7 separate regions of the Homo sapiens genome follow, and regions 1, 2, 3, 4, 5 and 7 are each linked to region 6. Evidence: promoter capture Hi-C in 16 types of primary human blood cells and fetal thymus (Javierre and others, 2016). All regions are on one chromosome and are shown on one strand. Each heading gives the region's core, a stretch centred on a gene start or on the middle of the fragment in contact. The rest is flanking DNA. Distances are from core to core; before and after follow the strand shown.

What was found. Contacts are between HindIII fragments. The CHiCAGO score rates a contact against its expected background, and 5 or more counts as called.
Region 1: a fragment that was not itself captured here is called in contact with the fragment with the promoter of MPHOSPH9 in region 6 in 2 of 17 cell types (M2 macrophages and endothelial precursors); the score reaches 5.8 in M2 macrophages.
Region 2: a fragment that was not itself captured here is called in contact with the fragment with the promoter of MPHOSPH9 in region 6 in 1 of 17 cell types (endothelial precursors); the score reaches 6.0 in endothelial precursors.
Region 3: a fragment that was not itself captured here is called in contact with the fragment with the promoter of MPHOSPH9 in region 6 in 1 of 17 cell types (naive CD4 T cells); the score reaches 5.0 in naive CD4 T cells.
Region 4: the fragment with the promoter of CCDC62 here is called in contact with the fragment with the promoter of MPHOSPH9 in region 6 in 3 of 17 cell types (naive B cells, naive CD4 T cells and M2 macrophages); the score reaches 6.4 in naive B cells.
Region 5: the fragment with the promoter of DENR here is called in contact with the fragment with the promoter of MPHOSPH9 in region 6 in 2 of 17 cell types (M1 macrophages and naive B cells); the score reaches 5.2 in M1 macrophages.
Region 7: a contact is called between a fragment that was not itself captured here and the fragment with the promoter of MPHOSPH9 in region 6, in 11 of 17 cell types (erythroblasts, megakaryocytes, naive CD4 T cells and 8 more). The highest score is 9.5, in erythroblasts.

The regions. Positions count from the first base shown.
Region 1 is chr12:122,826,741-122,829,440 of GRCh38, reverse strand. CCDC62 (coiled-coil domain containing 62) reads right to left here. Exons shown (of 13, transcript NM_201435.5): 13 at 1,913-2,700. Among named protein-coding and RNA genes, the nearest start is that of HIP1R, 7.4 kb to the left of the region's middle. The HindIII fragment of the contact is 1,981 bases long and covers 426-2,406 here.
Region 2 is chr12:122,848,306-122,851,005 of GRCh38, reverse strand. HIP1R (huntingtin interacting protein 1 related) reads right to left here. Exons shown (of 32, transcript NM_003959.3): 3 at 2,398-2,540; 4 at 2,154-2,210; 5 at 1,051-1,131; 6 at 95-171. Among named protein-coding and RNA genes, the nearest start is that of HIP1R, 14 kb to the right of the region's middle. The HindIII fragment of the contact is 3,405 bases long and covers 1-2,700 here.
Region 3 is chr12:123,608,443-123,611,142 of GRCh38, reverse strand. It overlaps DDX55 (DEAD-box helicase 55), which reads right to left. Exons shown (of 14, transcript NM_020936.3): 6 at 2,314-2,463; 7 at 1,015-1,204. Among named protein-coding and RNA genes, the nearest start is that of SNORA9B, 6.9 kb to the left of the region's middle. The HindIII fragment of the contact is 3,225 bases long and covers 1-2,700 here.
Region 4 is chr12:122,773,132-122,775,831 of GRCh38, reverse strand. CCDC62 (coiled-coil domain containing 62) reads right to left here and starts at 1,260. Exons shown (of 13, transcript NM_201435.5): 1 at 1,126-1,260. The coding sequence starts at 1,161. RefSeq lists silencers at 396-690, 1,213-1,422 and enhancers at 893-1,032, 420-1,113. The HindIII fragment of the contact is 6,061 bases long and covers 1-1,873 here.
Region 5 is chr12:122,751,449-122,754,148 of GRCh38, reverse strand. It overlaps DENR (density regulated re-initiation and release factor), which reads right to left and starts at 1,325. Exons shown (of 8, transcript NM_003677.5): 1 at 1,199-1,325; 2 at 342-456. The coding sequence starts at 447. RefSeq lists enhancers at 817-876, 1,968-2,700 and a silencer at 1,017-1,066. The HindIII fragment of the contact is 18,243 bases long and covers 266-2,700 here.
Region 6 is chr12:123,231,873-123,234,572 of GRCh38, reverse strand. It overlaps MPHOSPH9 (M-phase phosphoprotein 9), which reads left to right and starts at 1,432. Exons shown (of 24, transcript NM_022782.4): 1 at 1,432-1,498. MTRFR (mitochondrial translation release factor in rescue) reads right to left here and starts at 1,137. Exons shown (of 3, transcript NM_152269.5): 1 at 1,042-1,137. RefSeq lists an enhancer at 1,420-1,659. The HindIII fragment of the contact is 1,460 bases long and covers 1,214-2,673 here.
Region 7 is chr12:123,590,019-123,592,718 of GRCh38, reverse strand. TMED2 (transmembrane p24 trafficking protein 2) reads right to left here. Exons shown (of 4, transcript NM_006815.4): 3 at 2,270-2,377. Among named protein-coding and RNA genes, the nearest start is that of TMED2, 6.8 kb to the right of the region's middle. The HindIII fragment of the contact is 190 bases long and covers 1,350-1,539 here.

The DNA.
Region 1 (2,700 bases), core at 167-2,666, 410 kb after region 6:
GGCATGGTGGCACGTGCCTGGAGTCCTCGCTAATTGGGAGGCTGAAGCAGGAGAATCACTTGAGCCCAAGAGTTTGAGGCTACAGTGAGCTATGATGATACCACTGCCCTCCAGGCTGGGTGACAGAGTGAGACCCTGTCACTAAAAATAAAATTAAAAAAAAAATCCATTCACAGATTCTAAAAATACCCTTATATCAGTCTTTTCCAATGCTGAGATTACTTCTGGCAGGCAGATTGTAGTATAATTCATTTGCCTCCTCTTCAGATGTGTTGATCTTAAGAATGTTGCTGATAAGACATAAATGCTAAAATCTAGTTTTATCTTGTAACTATTTCAAATACTCTATGAGACTGCCTCTGTGCATCCATTAAAGTATAGAAAAAAAAAGGAGACTGCCTCTCTAACAGAAATTGCTCAAAGCTTAGGTCAGGGGTATCTGCACTCCACGTTCACTGCAGCACTGCTCACAACAGCCAAGATGTGGAAGCAACCTAAATGCCCATCAACAGATGAGTGGATAAAGAAATGTGGTGGCTCACGCCTGTAATCCCAGCACTTTGGGAGGCTGAGTTGGGAGGATCACATTAGGCCAGGAGTTCAACACCAGCCTGGCCAACATGACGAAACCCCGTCTCTACTAAAAAAACAAAAAGTTAGCCAGGAGTGGTGGTGGGCACCTGTAATCCTAGCTTCTCAGGAGACTGAGGCAGGAGAATTGCTTGAACTCGGGAGGTGGAGGTTGCAGTGAGCTGGAATTGAGCCACTGCACTCCAGCCTGGGCAACAGAGTGAGACTCGGTCTCAAAAAAAAAAAAGTAGTATATATATACATAATGGAATACTATTTAGCCATAAAAACAAACGAAATCCTGTCATTTAAATGACTCAGTTTGGGCCAGGTGCAGTGGCTTACATCTGTAATCCCAGCACTTTGGGAGGCCGAGAAGGTGGATCACAAGGTCAGAAGTTCAAGACCAGCCTTGCCAATATGGTGAAACCCCGTCTCTACTAAAAATACAAAATTTAGCTGGGCATGGTGGCGCACACCTGTAGTCCCAGCTACTCGGGAGGCTGAGGCAGGAGAATCACTTGAACCTGAAAGGCGGAGGTTGCAGTGAGCTGAGATCACGCCACTGCACTCCAGCCTGGGCGACAGAGAGAGACTCTGTCTCAAAAAAATAAATAAATAAATAAATAAATAAATAAATAACTTCGGTTGAGCTAGATGCATTGCTAACATTAAATTTCTCATTCTTTTTTTTTTTTTTTTTTTTTTTTTGAGACGGGACCTCACTCTGTCACCCAAGCTGGAGTGCAGTGGTACGATCTTGGCTCATTGCAACCTCCACCTCCTGGGTTCAAGCAATTCTCCTGCCTCAGCCTCCCAAGTAGCTGGGATTACAGGCGCGTGACACCATGCCCAGCTAATTTTTTGTATTTTTAGTAGAGAGGGGGTTTTGTCATGTTGGCCAGGCTGGTCTCGAACCTCTGATCTCAAGTGATCCACCTGCCTTAGGCTCCCAAAGTGCTGGAATTACAGGCATAAGCCGCCACACCCAGCTGAAATTTCTCATTGTTGGATTGCATATGGAACGATAAGCTGGTGGGATACAATAGGTGTCAGGTGTCGTAGGTACTATAATCCTATGAGCTAAAATACATTTAGCCATAAAATAATGTTTAATTGTTATCAAATCCTTTAGTTCCCTGACATGTTCCTATTTAGCATCTATTCAGTGTTGCCTTTTCACTAGGCAAGTTGATGTGCAGTCATGAACATGAAAAGGAGGAGAAAATTTAATATTTTGATTCTTAGATAGGAAGTCACGCTCCCCAAGGGTCATTTTAGGTTTCTACTTGGCAGGCAGCAGCTCAGAAGCAACTATACCTTTCTCCGTTTTGCTCTAGACAGCCCAGCCTGAGGGAGAAAGCACGCATTGATAAAGAACATAACCAAACCTCACCCAACTTCTCTTTTCAGCACCCTAATTAAAAAGGCTAAATGAGGTGGCTCTTCCCCGCTCATGAAAATCATCTCTGAAGTAACACTGAGACCTGTTAACAAAGGGGCATTTATTCAGCACAATAGAACTTTGATATCTGCAATGCTTAAAAAAATACATCCCCATTCCTGAGGAAATTAACTTGCCAGGTTCAGTTTAAAGTGATGAACGTTCCTTCCTTATTTTACTCCTGTAAAATAAAAAGAAACCAAGGAAACATATTTTTTCTTTAATATTAAAAATATCTTTTATGGACTGAAGTTGATCTATTCTTTTAGAGAAGACACAGAGGCATATAGTATAATCTTTAAAAAATTAAATTACTTTACAAGTTAAAATGGAAGTGTTTTAGTCTTTAAGATTTTTAAAAATGCGTCTAAAACTCGATCTTCCAGCAAGCTTTTGTTTGTGTCAGTAGGTGGGACTAATATAGACCCAGAAAGATGGGGCTCTGCTCAGCTTGGGACAGAAGGACCTCGAGCTATTTTCCAGTTACATTTTATATTTTATATCAAAGCACCTTATGTCTATTTACACAGCAAAGTCAAAAGCTAAAACCATGAGAGAATACTGTTTCTCATATATTTTGAGCTGACTCTGATAAGCTATTGTTTAGAATTTAAATGTATGCACAGATTTTTTAAAAATCAGATAGTTAAAACAGCACTTTCTATGCAGGGTTCTTTCTCTATTTG
Region 2 (2,700 bases), core at 177-2,676, 380 kb after region 6:
CACTGCCCCATGCGGACGCCTGGGCGTGAGACGCGGTAGGAAGGAATGGGGAAGCCGAGGGGAACTGGCTATGTAGCCATGCAGAGTGACTCACATGTTGTTGACATCGGTCCCAGCTGCCTTCTCCAGTACCTCATCTGTCACCTCCAGGCCCGCGGGAAACTGGGGATGCTGTGGAGAGAACCCCCACCCAGCGGCCACTGAACCAGGGCCCCCCCACACCTGGCGGCCACCGAACCAGGGCTCCCCCCCACCCAGCGGCCACTGAACCAGGGCCCCCCACACCCAGCGGCCACCGAACCAGGGCCCCCCAACCCAGCGGCCACCGAACCAGGGGGCCCCCCCACCCAGCGGCCACCGAACCAGGGCCCCCCCCACCCAGTGGCCACCGAACCAGGGCCCCCCCCACCCAGCGGCCACCGAACCAGGGCCCCCCCACCCAGCAGCCACCGAACCAGGGGGCCCCCCCACCCAGCGGCCACCGAACCAGGGCCCCCCCCACCCAGCGGCCACCGAACCAGGGCCCCCCCCACCCAGCGGCCACCGAACCAGGGCCCCCCCACCCAGCAGCCACCGAACCAGGGGGCCCCCCAACCCAGCGGCCACCGAACCAGGGCCCCCCCCACCCAGCGGCCACTGAACCAGGGCCCCCCCAACCCAGCGGCCACTGAACCAGGGGGCCCCACGCTGGACCCTGCTCTTGGCAGACCCAGGCTGTGGCCCACATAGGTGGCAGAGGGCAGTGGAGGGGTTGGGAGGAGGGGAGCACCCGGCCAGCACAGCAGAGACTGAGGAAGCCCAGCGCTCATGTCCACAGAAACGCCTGGGGAAGCCCGTGCCCACGTCCACGGAAATGCCTGAAGTGTTCTAGGAGCTTCGTGATGCCCTGGCTTCCCCGTCTCCCCTTTAGTCATAGTTGGGACAAGAAGGTGAATGGAAAGACTCATGGAGAGGACAGATCCCACCCTCGATGTCCCAACATGTGCCATAACGTCACAGTGGGAAAAGCCCACGGGTCCCTCAGCCCCATGACTCCCCCGAGGAAACCACCTTGAGGTGGAAGGAGATCTTGGTCAGCAGCAGCTTGGTGTAGACATTCACCAGCTGTCCGTAGCGGTCATGCAAATGTCCCTGTGTGAAGACAGACAGGGTGAGGGGCCACGGCTCGTGAACACGTCCAAGAGTCCTCAAGGACCTGGGCACGAGAGTGACCCACCACCGGGCACTTCTTCATTCAACAAACGTCTTCTCCTGGCCTCCACCAACCACCCTCTCTGTCTCTAGCTTTTTCCCTTAATCTTCCTCCTTGTCATTCCTGCCAAAGAAACTCTTGTGAGAAGAGAGCTCTTTGTCCAGGGCGGCAGGCCAGTTCTGAGCAGGGACGCTTTATTAAAGTGCTGGTGCTGGCAGGGAGGCACGTCCCGACGGGCGCCTGGACACATCCTCCCTGCTCCCTCCTCCAGCCCCACGGCCCCTGCGGCCGGGCCAGCTGGGCCTGCATCTGCAGGTGGCACCATGGGCAGTGTTTTCCTCGCTTCAAGGGAAGTGAGTCCGGGCAGTGGTTCTGGGTTGGATAACGCCCTGGTCAGGCCTCCCTGTGGGTACCCGGTCCAGGGCCTGCCCTGCTCCTATGTCCCTGCCCAGGCAGACGAGCACCCCACAGTGCTCCAGAGAGAACCAGGCCAAGGCCCTCTGCCCACCAGGGACATCTCTAACTCCTGAGGTCTTGCAGTGCATCCAGATTGCAGGCCCCCCAGGGCTCTCAGGCCTTACTGTGTGTGTGCTCAAAATGCAGACCTCCAGTCCTGATTCTTCAGCAGCAGGTCTGGGGGAGCCCAGGAACCTGCGCCCTGCCACAGGCTCTCTAACCACCGAGGTGCCCGGGCTGTGGTCTTGCCACATTTCCCAACTCGTGAGGACTAAAGGGCCCGGGTGACTTCGACGCTGGAGGGCCCACTGGTTATGCGTGTGGAGCGCCCTGGGCCAGGCCCTCAAAGGCAGGCAGCATCTCCCCGTGCTGCCCCTCCCACTGTCGCCCCTGGGAAAACCCAGCCACCCGCAGGGAACTGCCCACAGGGAGCCACCCTTCGCTCAGCCCCACACGCTCAGGAAAGCCCCGAATGCCAGGCAGGACCTAGAATGGCTGGACCTACCCACAGGTCTCCAATCTCCCGGATGTTGCTGCGGTACCGCTGGCAGTCATGCAGCACCTGCAGCGCAGGGAATACGGGAGTGGGGGAGTGTCCAGGACCGTGTGGCAGGGCCCTGAGACACGCACTCCCCACCCGAGGCGGGAGGAACAGCCCGGAGCTACGGGGACAGGAACAGGGCCAGAGCCCGCATGTCCGCGGGACAGTGCCCCAGCTCCGGGGAGCAGAGGCAGCAGCTGCTACTCACATTGGGGTGCCCGTCTCGAAGGACCTTGTGGAGGACGTGGCAGAACTTCCAGCTGAGAATGGAGCTGCTGGGCAGCGGCAGCCCAATGGCGTAGGACCAGAAGGTGAAAGCCCCCTTCTCGTGGTGTGTGCCCAGAATGATGCCTGCAATGTCAAGGCCAAGTGTGGAAGCAGAGACTGGAGCACGGGGGCTCAGCAAACCCGGCTGAGAGAGGCCAGGGCCGCCGGAAGAGGGCCGGCCCCCAATCACGTGCCCATCAACCCCGGGTCACCAGAGCTCCAGTGTCCAGCCAAGGGGACAGGA
Region 3 (2,700 bases), core at 17-2,516, 380 kb before region 6:
AGGATCATGAGGTCAGGAGTTCAAGACCAGCCTGTCCAATGTGGTGAAACCCCACCTCTACTAAAGATACAAAAAATTAGCTGGGCATGGTGGCACATGCCTGTAATCCCAGCTACTCGGGAGACTGAGGCAGAAGAATTGCTTGAACCAGGAGGCAGAGGTTGCAGTGAGCCGAGATCGTGCCATTGCACTCCAGCCTGGGTGACAGGGTGAGACCCCGTCTCAAAACAAAAAAAAACAAACAAAAAAAAACGGCCGGGCGCGGTGGCTCACACCTGTAATCCCAGCACTTTGGGAGGCCGAGGCAGGTGGATCACCAGGTCAGGAGATGGAGACCATCCTGGCTAACAGGGCTAACAAAAAATTAGCCGGGCGTGGTGGCGGGCGCCTGTAGTCCCAGCTATTCGGGAGGCTGAGGCAGGAGAATGGCATGAACCCAGGAGGCGGAGCTTGCAGTGAGCTGAGATCGCGCCACTGCACTCCAGCCTGGGCGACAGAGCCAGACTCTGTCTCAAAAAAAAAAAAAAAAAAAAAAAAGAAACTCAGCATATTTGATGCAGGTCAAAAATACACAACATTTACGGAGCAGAACATTTCCACCCCACAAAGTCTCCTTAGGAGTGAGTCTGTCATTTGATTTTCTGTGTTCCACCTGCACATCTAACTATGCCCTTCTCTGTCAGACAGGCTGTTCTGACGGGCCCAGGAACTACAGAGCTTAGTCATGGCTGCACCCAGCACACCCCAAGCATGTACAATAGAAACATTTGGTCACTTGAGGGTAGGAGGTTCAGAGACTCTGTCCTTAGAGACTGTGCTTAAAATACATTTATGTCCAATTTAACTTATTCATTCAATGAGTAGGACCACTCAGGCCATTTGCCCTAGCTAGCTCTGTCCCCAAATGCATTTCATAGGTGCTACAGGGTCTCACATATTTATTCTACCAGTACAATTTCCATAAAATGAGCACTGGTCATTATCGCTGAGTAAGAAGCAAGCCCAGGCGCTTACCATGTAGTAGTTTTCCAGGCGGGAGGGGGTCTTCTGGGCACTGCTGGCTGCCACGCCCTTCTCCTTCACTGAGACCCGGACAGGGTTCCGGAGGCCCGCTCTCACCAGGTTCTCCACTTCCTGCGTCTGAGTGGCAGAGAAAAGGCCTGTTCTCCTCTGCTTTGGCAAAAACTCCAGAATGGTGTTGATGCTGATAAAAAGAGGGCTCACACTTAACCGCTCACTTGCCAGCAGAATCAACACACAGTGCTTCACGATACTAAACAGGTATTCAAAAAGACTGAAAGTGAAGCCATCAAAATATTTATAGCACATACACTGGGAGGTGAGATTATAGGTGATTCTTTGTTTCTTCTTTATACTTTCATTTTTCCAAGGTTCCTCAAATTTTAGCATACAATTATAATGATATGTGAATTATATCCCATAAAGCTGTTTATTAAAAAACAACAAAACTGCCAGGTGTGATGGCTCATGCTTGTAATCCCAGCACTTCGGGAGACTGGGATGGGAAGATCTCTTGAGCCCAGGAGTTTGAGACCAACCTGGGCAACATAATGGGATCTTGTCTCTGCCAAAAATTAAAAAAAAAAAGCATGATGGCATGTGCCTGTAGTCCCAGATGACTCAGGAGGCTGAGGTGGGAGGATCACTTAAGCCCAGGAAGTAAAGGTCGCAATGACCCGAAATCATGCCACTGCATTCTAGCCTGGATGACAGAGTGAGACCCTGTCTCAAAAAAAAAAAAAAAAAAAAAACTTGAAGGAAAGTGCATTTTAAGATCAAAGATAGAACTGGAATAAAATCACGTGGTAGAATTTGAAAGCTCAAACTACTTAATGATTTGAAATTAAAATGTGGTTAATAAAAATACTTAGGCCAGGCATGGTGGCTGGCACCTGTAATCCTAGCACTTTGGGTACCCTAGGTAGGAGGATCACTTAAGTCCAGGAGTTTGAGAACAGACTGGGCAACATGGCAAAACCTCATCTGCAAAAAATAAAAAAACCATCCAGGCATGGTGGTGTGCACCTGTAATCCCAGCTACCCGGGAGGCTGATGCAGGAGGATCATCTGAGCCCGAGAGGTTGAGGCTGCAGTGAACATAATCACACCACTGCACTCCAGCCTGGGTGACAGCACAAGACCCTGTCTCTAATAAACAAATAAATAAAAAATAAATAAAAATGAAAATAAAAAATAAAAATACCTAGTCATGAAACAGTAAACTCCATTTTGCTCCCCTTTTGTATTAGTATCATCTGCCCACTCAAGCCAGTGAAGTCCAAAGTCCAGTACCTTGCCTCAAACCCCATGTCCAGAAGTCTGTCTGCCTCATCCAACACCAGGACATCCAGGGATCGCACACAGCTGGCCAGATCCAAGCCTTCGGCCTTCCTCCGGAACATGTCCTCCAAGCGGCCTGGAGTGGCCACAATGATGTTCCCACTTTGGAAAGAAAGTTAACATTTACCAAACTCTCTGGATCTTGGGAATGTGGTTGATGATTACCAAAATACCAAGTTTTATATCCCCCCAAAGTCATTTAAGCCCTAGTGAAGAGAACGAAGAGCATGAGAGTAGAAGAGTGCTGCAGGGTAGAAAGACTGAGGGCTGTGGTGAGACGGGATCTGGGTTCTGGGCTATGACCTAGGCAAGGTTGGCAAACTCCAGCTCCCGGACCAA
Region 4 (2,700 bases), core at 11-2,510, 460 kb after region 6:
AGACCAGCCTGGCCAACATGGCGAAACCCTGTCTCTACTAAAAACACAAAAATTAGCTCGGCATGGTGGTGGGAGCCTGTAGTCCCAGCTATTTGGGAGGCTGAGGCGGGAGGATTGCTTGAACTCGGGAAGCAGAGGCTGCAGTAAGCCGACATTGCGTCACTGTACTCCAGCCCTGGGGACAGAGCCAGACCCTGTCTCAAAAATAAATAAATAAGAATGATGAATAAATTACAGTTGCTAGTCTTAACAAGGAAAATGGAATTTGGAGTCAAGGGATTTCAAGTCCCAAGGCTTGAATTCCAGTGTTGGGTTAGCCCTTCATTCATGCACTCAACAAATAATTTATTGAGCGCCAGTGGCTGGGCCACAGACCTCCAGGCAAGGAGCACATATTCCACTCCAGGAAAACAGGCAGTAAGCCGAGTACACAAAGGCAGGTCGTCTTACACTGATGGACGCGAACCTTGGGCAAGCCCACTTCCAGACTTTTTGGTACAGTGGAGTTGTGAGAGCTCCTTCCTCTACTCGCCAGGTTGTGTAAATTAAGGACACCCTGAGAGGTAAATGGGAAAGCAGCTCCCCAGACGCCAATCGTCCTCCTTAAACAGTAAGCACCGGGTACGCGCTACTCTGTGGCCCGGGCTGAATAACAAGGTGTTATTGGGTTAAGGAAACGGTCGTGACGCCGTTTTCCTCTAGTGTATTGTTTCACTTTTTTTTTTTTTTTTTTTTTTTGAGACGGAGTCTCGCTCTGTCGCCCAGGCTGGAGTGCAGTGGCGCGATCTCGGCTCACTGCAAGCTCTGCCTCCCGGGTTCACGCCATTCTCCTGCCTCAGCCTCCCGAGTAGCTGGGATTACAGGCGCCCGCCGCCACGCCCGGCTAATTTTTTTTTTTTTATTTTTAGTAGAGACGGGGTTTCACTGTGTTAGCCAGGATGGTCTCGATCTCCTGACCTCGTGATCCGCCCGCCTCCGCCTCCCAAAGCGCTGGGATTACAGGCGTGAGCCACCGCGCCCGGCCTGTTTCACATTTTAAGTAGACACCGTTCTTGAGAAGCAATAGATTTCGACCAATGTGCACCGTTCCCGCGGCGCCCCGCCGCGCCCGGAACCGCTGCTTACCTGGCGCCCGGCAAGGAAGGCTGCCGGAGGGTTCATAGGTGTTTCCTCCGCCCCCGGAGAAGCCCGGTGTGGGCGGCGTCACCTCAGAAACGCCATCGGCGCGCCTGCCCCGAGCGGCGGGGGCGAGCCCGGAGCCCCGGGGCCCCGCGCCCTCGGCCGACCCCCGCCCCGTACTCCAACCGCCTGCCTGGTGCCCACGCGGCGTGCGCCCGCCGGGGCTCGGGGCTCCCCGCCAGGGTTTCCGGGCCGCAGCCCCGCTGCGCTGGTGGGCACTGTTCTTCTGCCTCGGAAACTGGGGGCTCCCAAGTGGCTCAGGCTGCGTATGGACGCTTTTTGCCCACGCCCGAGGCTCCGGCGCTGGAAGGCCTGAAAGAACCGGCTGTTCACCACTACCCAGAGAATGAAGAAGTCAATAAAGGCTGCTGCGCCGCCCCCAGCACTCTGGTTTATGACATTTGAGTTGCTCACTTCCCTATCTTCCATCTTCCCCCTAATAACCGTGAGCTCGGCCGTGCTCGCTCCTGTGTAGCTGGCTCCCAGAACAGGACCTGACACTCGAATGCGTGGAGGCAGAGCCCAGCCCTCGGGGATAACAGTTGCGGGCTACCCTAGCACCTTTGATACTTTAAACCAAGAATCACAGATGAAGAGGGGGAAATTTACTCTTGGGAGCTCCTGAAAAGCAATGAGGAGAACCACGGTACTTTGTCATGACAAAATCTACGATATTCTGGGTTGAATCTAAGCTTTTTCACCTGTTCTTCCATAGTCACCTCTTCATCCCCCTTTCACTCTTCCTAAGATGTGGGAACGGGACTAGGAAAAAATAAGGCTTATCACACTTCAGCCCCGGCTGCCCATCCCTGAATGCTTAACCCATCAGACAGCAACACAATTACTAAATACGGTCGGTCTTACAGGGTTTCAACTTTACTTTTTGGTTGAATATGAAATGCCAAAACATGCCCTTGTGTTCAAAAAATACAATCTGAAAATGGAAAAACAAAATTAAGATTTCTTATTTTGAAGCTTTACTGATAGGCTCATGTTTGGGAGACCAAAGCAATGTCTTAGAATTTAAAATCAAGAAAGCTGGGCGCAGTGGCCTGTAACCCCAGCACTTTGGGAGGCCAATGTAGGAGGATCTGTTGCGTTCAGGAGTTTGAGACCAGCCTGAGCAACATGGTGACACCCACCTCTAAAAAACTTTTTTTTTTTTTTTTTTTGAGATGGAGTCTGGCTCTTGTTGCCTGAGCTGGAGTGCAATGGCACAATCTCGGCTCACTGCAAACTCTGCCTCTGGCCTCAAGCAAATCTCCTGCCTCAGCCTCCCGAGTAGCTGGGATTACAGGTGCCCGCCACCACGCCACCTTTGTTGTATTTTTAGTAGAGATGGGTTTCACTACCTTGGCCAGGCTGGTCGCGAACTCCTGACCTCAGTTGACCCACCCACTTCAGCCTCCCAAAGTGCTGGGATTACAGGTGTGAGCTACCGCACCTGGCCAAAAAATAAATTTTTTTTTAAACTGGGCGTGGTGGTGCACTCCTGTGGTCTCAGCTACTCACGAGGCTGAC
Region 5 (2,700 bases), core at 76-2,575, 480 kb after region 6:
TCTCATCCAGTCCTTGCCATCCTTAACTCATAATCTTCCAAGAAGCCCTCCTTTGACAGCTAGACTAGCATACACCTTGAGGACCTTCAGGCTGAAATAACCTAGTTGCACATCCTGTTACAAATGGACTGTAAGCTTCTTCAGGCAGAGTAGCCAGACACAAATCACCCAGGTGGGGAAACTCTGTTAATTCATGCCTCCTCCTCCCCAGGACTCCTCTCCCCCAGTACAAACTCACCAAATGAAAAGGATGGGGAAGAAAGCTTACCAAATGTCAAACTGTTATTACAATGCATAAAAGTATAGTGAGTAAAAGTCATTCTGTGGCTACCAACACTTGCCTCCACAATAAAGGACTCGAAGTGGGTAATCGGCATCTAACTTGGCACTGTTCCTTGGGTCTCCTTTGCAGTCAGCCCCGCTGGATTCAGAAATGTCAGCAGCCATTTCACAAACCTGTAAGCAAGGAAAATAACACACCCTCACTATTTTAGAATCAAGACCCCAGAAGAGCAGTGTTCCTCTCAACAGAAACCTCCCCACCCCAAAGCTGTTTCAAGTCTGTTGTTGAGTGGGGGATACAAGCTGCATTCGATTCATAAAATATGAGCAATCCCAGGCACAACATCTCCTTGCTCCACAGGTCTACAGGGAAGCAAGCAGCAAATGGACCATGAAGGATGGGGCAGAGGGACTCACTAGAGAAAAACAGGAAGCAATGGGGAAGGAAAGATGGGGTGAGTACCCACGGCAGACACGGAGCAAAAAGGTCTGAGGGTGATCTGGGAGGGATGCAAACTGCAGTGAGAGAAGGGCTACAAAGGCGCCGAATGGAGAGAGGCTGGAAGTGCCTAGGAACAAGGGGTGGGTCATCGGAGAAGCCCGGGGTGCAGGGTGTGGGGGCAACTAAACGCCATGAGAGGGGCCTGGGGAGTCTAAAAAGGGCATGGGAGGGGGCGGGGTAACCAGAGCGTAAGAAGGATGAGGAGAGAAAACGAGCGCAGAATGTAAGAGCACTGAGGGGACAAGGGCGACCAGGTCTGAGGCGAAGGAGCAACCCCGGGGACGCCAGAAGGGGCCCTTGTGGGCGGGGGTGTGGAGAGGCCCGGCCCGGCCCCCTTCCGCCAGGCAGCATCTCAGCTTCCCCCACACTCTCTACGAGCTTCTCGGGAGCGGGAGAAGCACTTGGGGTCGTTACCCAGGCGGTCGCACAGGCCCCGCCGGCTCCGCTCCCGCCGCTATCGCCAGCTGAACCAACACATGCAACTCGTCTCCCCGGCCAGGGCCGCCCGAGCGCCCGACCGCCAGCAGCGCTCCCGCGAGACAATGAGCCTTTATCGCGAGATTCCGGCCGCCGCTGGGCGGATGTCGCGAGAAGCCGGAAGACGGGGGCGGAGAAAAATTGCGGAGCGTGCGCCTTGCCCTCCGGTGGGGGGCGTGGCCAAGAGGCCGAGAGGCGGGCCGCCGGCAGGCGGTGCTCGTCACCCGTTGGAGAGGATGAATCCTCGAGATGGGCGTGCCGAAGGGAACGTGACTTGCAGACGCAGAGAGCGCACCTGAGTCACAAATGACTCCCTATTAATGAGTCCGAGGATCATCGCCTCGGTGTCTGCGGTGCATCCTGGAGTCCTGACTAACCTCCAGCTACTGCATAAATCACTCCCGTGCGGGGAGATTGCAGCCGGATAGAGCGTTTGGTCGCATTTTAACACCATGCACTGAATTAAAGGAAGGTGTTCTCCCTCCCTCCCTCCCTCCCTTCCTTCTTTCCTTCCTCTCTTCTTTTCTCTCTCTCTTCGCCGGATGGAGCGTTTGGTTGCGTTTTAACACCATACACTAAATTAAAGGAATTCTTTTTTCTTTCTTTTCTGTTCTTTCTTTTCTTTCTTCTTTCTCTTCTTTCTGTCTCTTTCTTCCCCTTCCCTCCCTCCCTCCCTTCCTTCCTTCTTTCCTTCCTTCCTCCCTCCCTTCCTTCCTTCCTCCCTCCCTTCCTTCATCCTTTTCTTTATGTTTTGACAGGGTCTCACTCTGTCACCTAGGCTGGATGGAGTGCAGTTGCACAAACACGGTTCACTGCAGCCTCGACCTCCCAAGTAGTTGGGAATACAGGCGCGCGTTACCACACCCAGCTAATTTTTAATTTGTTTATAGAGGTGGGGGAATCTCCCTATGCTGTCCAGGCTGGTCTCGAACTCCCGGACTCAAGGGATCCTCCCGCCTCCGCCTCCCAAAGTGCTGGGATTACAGGCGTGAGCCACCGCGCCCGGCCTACAATTTTTTTTAATGAAAAAAAGAAAAATGTAAGAGTATGGGAATATATGGGGAAAAGAAAGATCAGATTGTTACTGTGTCTGTGTAGAAAGAAGTAGACATAAGAGACTCCATTTTGTTCTGTGCTAAGAAAAATTCTTCTGCCTTGAGATGCTGTTAATCTGTAACCCTACCACCAACCCTGTGCTTCCTGAGACCTGTGCTGTGTCAACTGAGGGTTAAATGGATTAAGGGCTGTGCAGGATGTGCTTTGTTAAACAAATGCTTGAAGGCAGCATGCGCCTTAAGAATCATCACCACTCCCTAATCTCAAGTACCCAGAGACACAATACACTGCAGAAGGCCGCAGGGACCTCTTCCTAGGAAAGCCAGGTATTGTCCAAGGTTTCTCCTCATGTGATAGTCTGAAATATGGCCTCGTGGGAAGGG
Region 6 (2,700 bases), core at 183-2,682:
ATACAAAAAATTAGCCGGATGTGGTGGCGGGCACCGGTATTCCCGGCTACTCGGGAGGCTGAAGCAGAAGAATCACTTGAACCCGGGAGGCAGAGGTTAAAGTGAGCCGAGATCGCGCCACTGCCCTCCAGCCTGGGTGACAGAGAGAGACCTTGTCCCCCCTACCCCCCTCCCCCACAAAAATAAAAAAAGTAAAAAAAAATTGGTAGGTATACTTAGGAAGCTCCAATGAGATGTAACGCCTCCTGGCAGATCTGTTATTCCAAGGGCAGATCCATTTCCTGGGTTGTGGAGGCCTAAGTGATAGTGCCAGGGAAGTCCCTTTACTGTGAGCCAGAACTCCTGGAGGTAAATCGAGTAGCTGGAAAGACCTTAAAGGTTAACTATGCTGAAGAATGTGGCCTGCACAGTGCGCATGAAATGGGCTGGGGTCCCACGGGGAGGAGAGCGAGTTCCCTTTGGTCCTTCAAAAGTAGGGCTGGGTGGCTTGCGCCTGTGATCCCAGCACTTTGGGAGGCCGAGGAAGGAGGATCGCTTGAGGCCAGGAGTTCGAGATCAGCTTGGGCAACACAGTGAGACCCCCCCACCCCACGTCTATTAAAAAAAAAACGAGTATCTCCGCAAAAGCCTAGCAAGGGCAGTGCTGACCTCTACTACGTGCCAGGCCTGAAACAGCACCTGATGCGTGCTCACAGCTCCATTCCGCTCAGTTTTGTACATGAGGATCCTTCCGTTTCGCCTTGGGCCTCCGTGGAACCGTTATCTCCAGGACGGTAGTCTCTCCTCTCCCCTGCCCTGAGTGCCTGAACAGCCCCAGGGCCGACCCACAGCACCTAGCGTAAACCAGGTCCCGAGAAAACTGAGCTCGGGTGTCACGGCCGGCCCCACCCCACCGCCAGCGCGGCCTCAGGTAAACTGGCTGCGCCACTCGGGGTCGCAAGTCGGGAAAAACCCAGGCGTCCCGGCTCGCAGTCCTCTCTCCGGAGCCTTTGACAGTCGTCGGCAGCCGTAGGGTTACCTGGCTTCTCCGCAGATGCTTACCTGGTCTCAGGACCCGACTCGTGCCCTCAACGTTCTAGGGATATCCAAATCACCTCAGCGGAGGATTCGCAATCGCGATCCCTGATCTGCGCACGCGCCGTACTCCGATCGCGGTTTCTCTTATCTACCAGAGGCTCATGTTTACTCACTGCGCATGCGAGAAACTGAAGCTTCTTTCCCTCGTGGCAGCGGCTGGCTCCCAGAGAGCCAATCAGAGAAGAGAGTTTCACAGCAATCCCGCCCCCTTGTCACTCCCCCGGGGTTGGATGTCTCTCTTTGGTTGGAGCTGCGCGAGGGGGAACGGCGAGGTGGACGCGCGCGCCATGCGAGGCTGTCTCCGCCTCCTTCCGGGCAGCCAATCACTGGAGAGACGCCGGGCGCGCGCGCGCTCCCTCGGGTAACGGTCGCGAGAGGCCGCTTGCATGACCCTGACATCGGCAGCGGGAGCGGCGGCCAGGTAAGCGGCCACCAGCCTGCAGGGAGCTGTAGGCCGCTGGGGACAGGAGACGAGACTTAGGAGACACTGTCTTAGCGGCCCCTTGAGTGTGGTGATGGGCTGGGGTGTGGGGTGACGGCTGCCGATTGGCCTGACCCCCTCGGAGCCCTTCGGCGTGTGGGAGCTCTGCCCGGCCGCGGTGCGCCTTTTCTAGACTCGGCGCCCTTGAGTGACACTCGCGCGGCCCAATCGCAGATCGCTCTTCCTGAGGGGCGGGGGGTTTGTGGGGTTTTTTTAATTTTTCCCCCCATTTTTTGCCAAGGTGCCCCGGTTTCCTTTTGGAATCGCGGTTGTAGTTGCAGGAGCGGTGGCTTTTCTCCGTCCTCCCTGCTTTCCGTAGCTTAGGCGACTGCATAGATTCTCCCTCTCCTTCCCACTTTGACCCGATAGCCGCCACCAGCCATTGCGGGCTGACTGTGAGCTCAGAATGTCGGGATCTGGCCTCATCCCCATCTGAAATCTCTTCCTCTCCCCCAAGCCTCCCGTCAAGGCGGAGCGCCCAGTTAACTTTCATGTTTCATAACCATCAATCGTTCCTTTTCCCCAGCTCCCTTTTTTTGCTAGGGGGTAGGGACACCAAAAGCGTCATATCTTGTTGCTGGGAAATATAAAAGCTCTGCTCTTATATTCATTCTGTATCAAGTTAAAAAAATTTTTTTTTGCATTGTATTTGTGGGTGTTTAAGGATTTTTCCCTCTTACTTCCCTGCCCTCCCCCCAGCACCTCCACCCCAAATGGAGAAGCATCTTTGAATTTCTAGTGGTTTTCCATCTGGATCTGCATCCGGATCCGGATTACCTTAGCAGGGGAAATAATAGATGGGGTTGCAGGTTCATCTCCCTGGAGAGCTTGTGTTTTCCTGGTGTAATAGCATGGTGATTGGAATCCAGGTATTTCTGTTGCCAGTTGGAAGGGGCAGTCCTTGACTGTTTCAATGCCCCATTTGTCGTGGGTGATGGGCTGAGCCACTGGGGAAAAGTCCATTTAGTTAGGTCCGGTTACCCTTTGCATTCACTCCTGTCCCTGAAGGAAATGGTCCCTGTTTTTGTGTAATGCTTTATAAAAGCAGGCCCTAGAAAGTGGGAATCTAGCAGAAGCGGAATACTAGATAATATTCCTGTTGCACTCTCTAAGCTTTTCAGTTTGTAAGCAGCTGAAGTTTT
Region 7 (2,700 bases), core at 195-2,694, 360 kb before region 6:
AGAAGCAACACATTATTATTACAACACTGTAGTGAAAGGATCTCATTATGTTCACTGCTGAGGAGTGGGTCCTATAGGAAGACTCACAAAAACAAAACATTATGGGAACCATTTGCTTTGTAAATTTAAACTGAATGCCTATAAACTCAATTCTAGAAATTGCTAACACTTTTAAATATGAACACATAGCTCACTATTTGTGAAACAAATACAGGAGTATCTCCACTCAAATCATGGGTGAGAGAACAAGGTTGGACACCCTAAAGACGGAAGACATGTGCTTCCTCTGGCCACTGTGTTCCCAAGAACTTCTATAACTTGAAAGCCATCTGGTCTGAACCAGTTAAAATTGCAAAGTAGAGGAACTTGCCCTCTGAGTTAGTTCAGTGCCCTTCCAACTCCAGAATGGGCTGTTTCCCCATCTGGGAACAAGGTAAACAACATATGAGTCCCAACAAGATAAGAGAGAAAAAGTGAAGATCCCAGCTGGTGAGATTAAGAGTGGAGGCAAGGAGACAAAATTGTGAGGCAAGAGGCTGGAGTAATTGTAGACAAGCCTTGGTCCATAATATGCCCCACTCCACTCCTAAAACAAGTGGGGATGAGGGGAGTTCTCCAGGCTATTACATTTACACACCTTCCTGCCAACACAAGCTGATGTCTGTGCTCTAGATCCTGAAGATTTGTTTCCATAAGTAGCAAGAACAGATTTAAGGGTAGGAAAAACAGAAAGCACATCTGGAAGAAATTCAAGCTGTGCTTATCTCTTTGAGTCACTCTTCACTTCCTACTCCAGTCTCAGAACAAAGATTCCTGACATAAAATCACTGCCCTTAAGACAAGAGCTTGCTCCCAAGCAATCCCCCGCCTCAGCCTCCTGAGTAGCTGGGACTACAGAGATGCGTCACTATACCTTGCTCTTTTTCCTTTTTTTTTTTCAGACAGAGTCTCGCTCTGTCGCCAGGCCGGAGTGCAATGGCATGATATCAGCTCACTGCAACCTCCGCCTCCGGGGTTCAAGTGATTCTCCTGCCTCAGCCTCCTGAGTAGCTGGGACTACAGGCGCGTGCCACCATGCCCGGCTAATTTTTGTAGTTTTAGTAGAGGTGGGATTTCACCATGTTGGCCAGGATGGTCTCAGTCTCTTGACCTTGTGATCCGCCCACCTCAGCCTCCCAAAGTGCTAGGATTACAGGCGTGAGCCACTGCCCCCAGCCACCTTGCTCTTTTCATCTCCCCAAGAACTACCTGGAGGATGAAAACACTGAACAATGGTGTGGCCCTGAACCTAATCAATGGAATTGGTCTGTCTGTCAATATAGTACCTCTTAATTTTAAATGCAAAAGCTTCATTTTTAATGCTCTATCCAGTTCTAAACAGACTTTTGCAACCTAACACAAGATTTCAATCATCACTGTTTCCACAGCAAAATACATTCCAAATTCCCAACTTACAAACTTGAGGACCCAAACTGATCTTCACCTGGTGACTTCCCTGTACTCATGTTTTGGTGTTTTCTAGTCTAACTATATTAAGCTTTCCATTTTAGTAAAAAGGTTAAATCTCAGCATCTAATATTAATCCCACTGGTACATAAGTTTCAGGTATGTGATTAAAAACCAATGCAATACGCATTTTACAACATTTTTCCCTTCTGATTTAAGAAAACAATTAGCTTATTCCTTAGCTCACCATACATTTTTAAAAACCCAAACTTTTTTTTTTTTTTTTCCCTGAGACAGAGTCTAGCTCCATTGCCCAGGCTGGAGTGCAGTGGCCCAATCTCAGCTCACTGCAACCTCTGCCTCCCGGTTCAAGTGATTCTCATGCCTCAGCCTCCCGAGTAGCTGGGACTATAGGTGCACGCCACCACACCCAGCTAATTTTTTTATTTTTTGTAGAGACGAGGTTTCACCATGTTGGCCAGGCTGGTCTCGAACTCCCAACCTCAGGTGATCCGCCTGCCTCAGCCTCCCAAAGTGCTGGGATTACAGGCGTGAGCCACCATGCCCGGCCAGAAAACTAAACTCTTAAAAACTTGTACTAAATCTTAATAGCATTTTCTAGTTTACAATGAATGTCCCAATAATAAACTACAAAGCTCCACACATGTGTATGCTCAAAAAATATCTCGTGTAGGTACACTTTTAAAGTCAATGCTTTCACATAAAATTTGCAAAGTTTCCAAATGAGGAAAATACGAGCAAGCTGTTGAGTAAAACAACCTTCACCATCAGACACTGCTGCAAAGTGACGGCATTCACTTACTGGCTCTGTGTATTCTCTCCCGGACTTCCATGTATTCCTGTTCGTGCTTTACAGCTGTCATCGCCACTGCTAGCTCATTGATCATTTCTTCTAGCTTGTTCTGGTGAGCTATAGAAGGATTTGAAAACAAAACACATTTGTCAATGTCTTTTTTTTTTTTTTTTTGAGACAGAGTCTCGCTCTGTTGCCCAGGCTGGAGTGCAGTGGTGCTCAATCTCAGCTCACTGCAACCTCTGCCTCCCAGGCTGAAGCGATTCTCCTGCCTCAGCCTCCAGAGTAGCTGGGATTACAGGCACACGCTGCCACACCCAGCTAATTTTTGTATTTTTAGTAGAGACGGGGTTTCACCATGTTGGTCAGGCTGGTCTTGAACTCCTGACCTCAGGTGATCCACCTGCTTGAGCCTCCCAAAATGCTGGAATTACATGCGT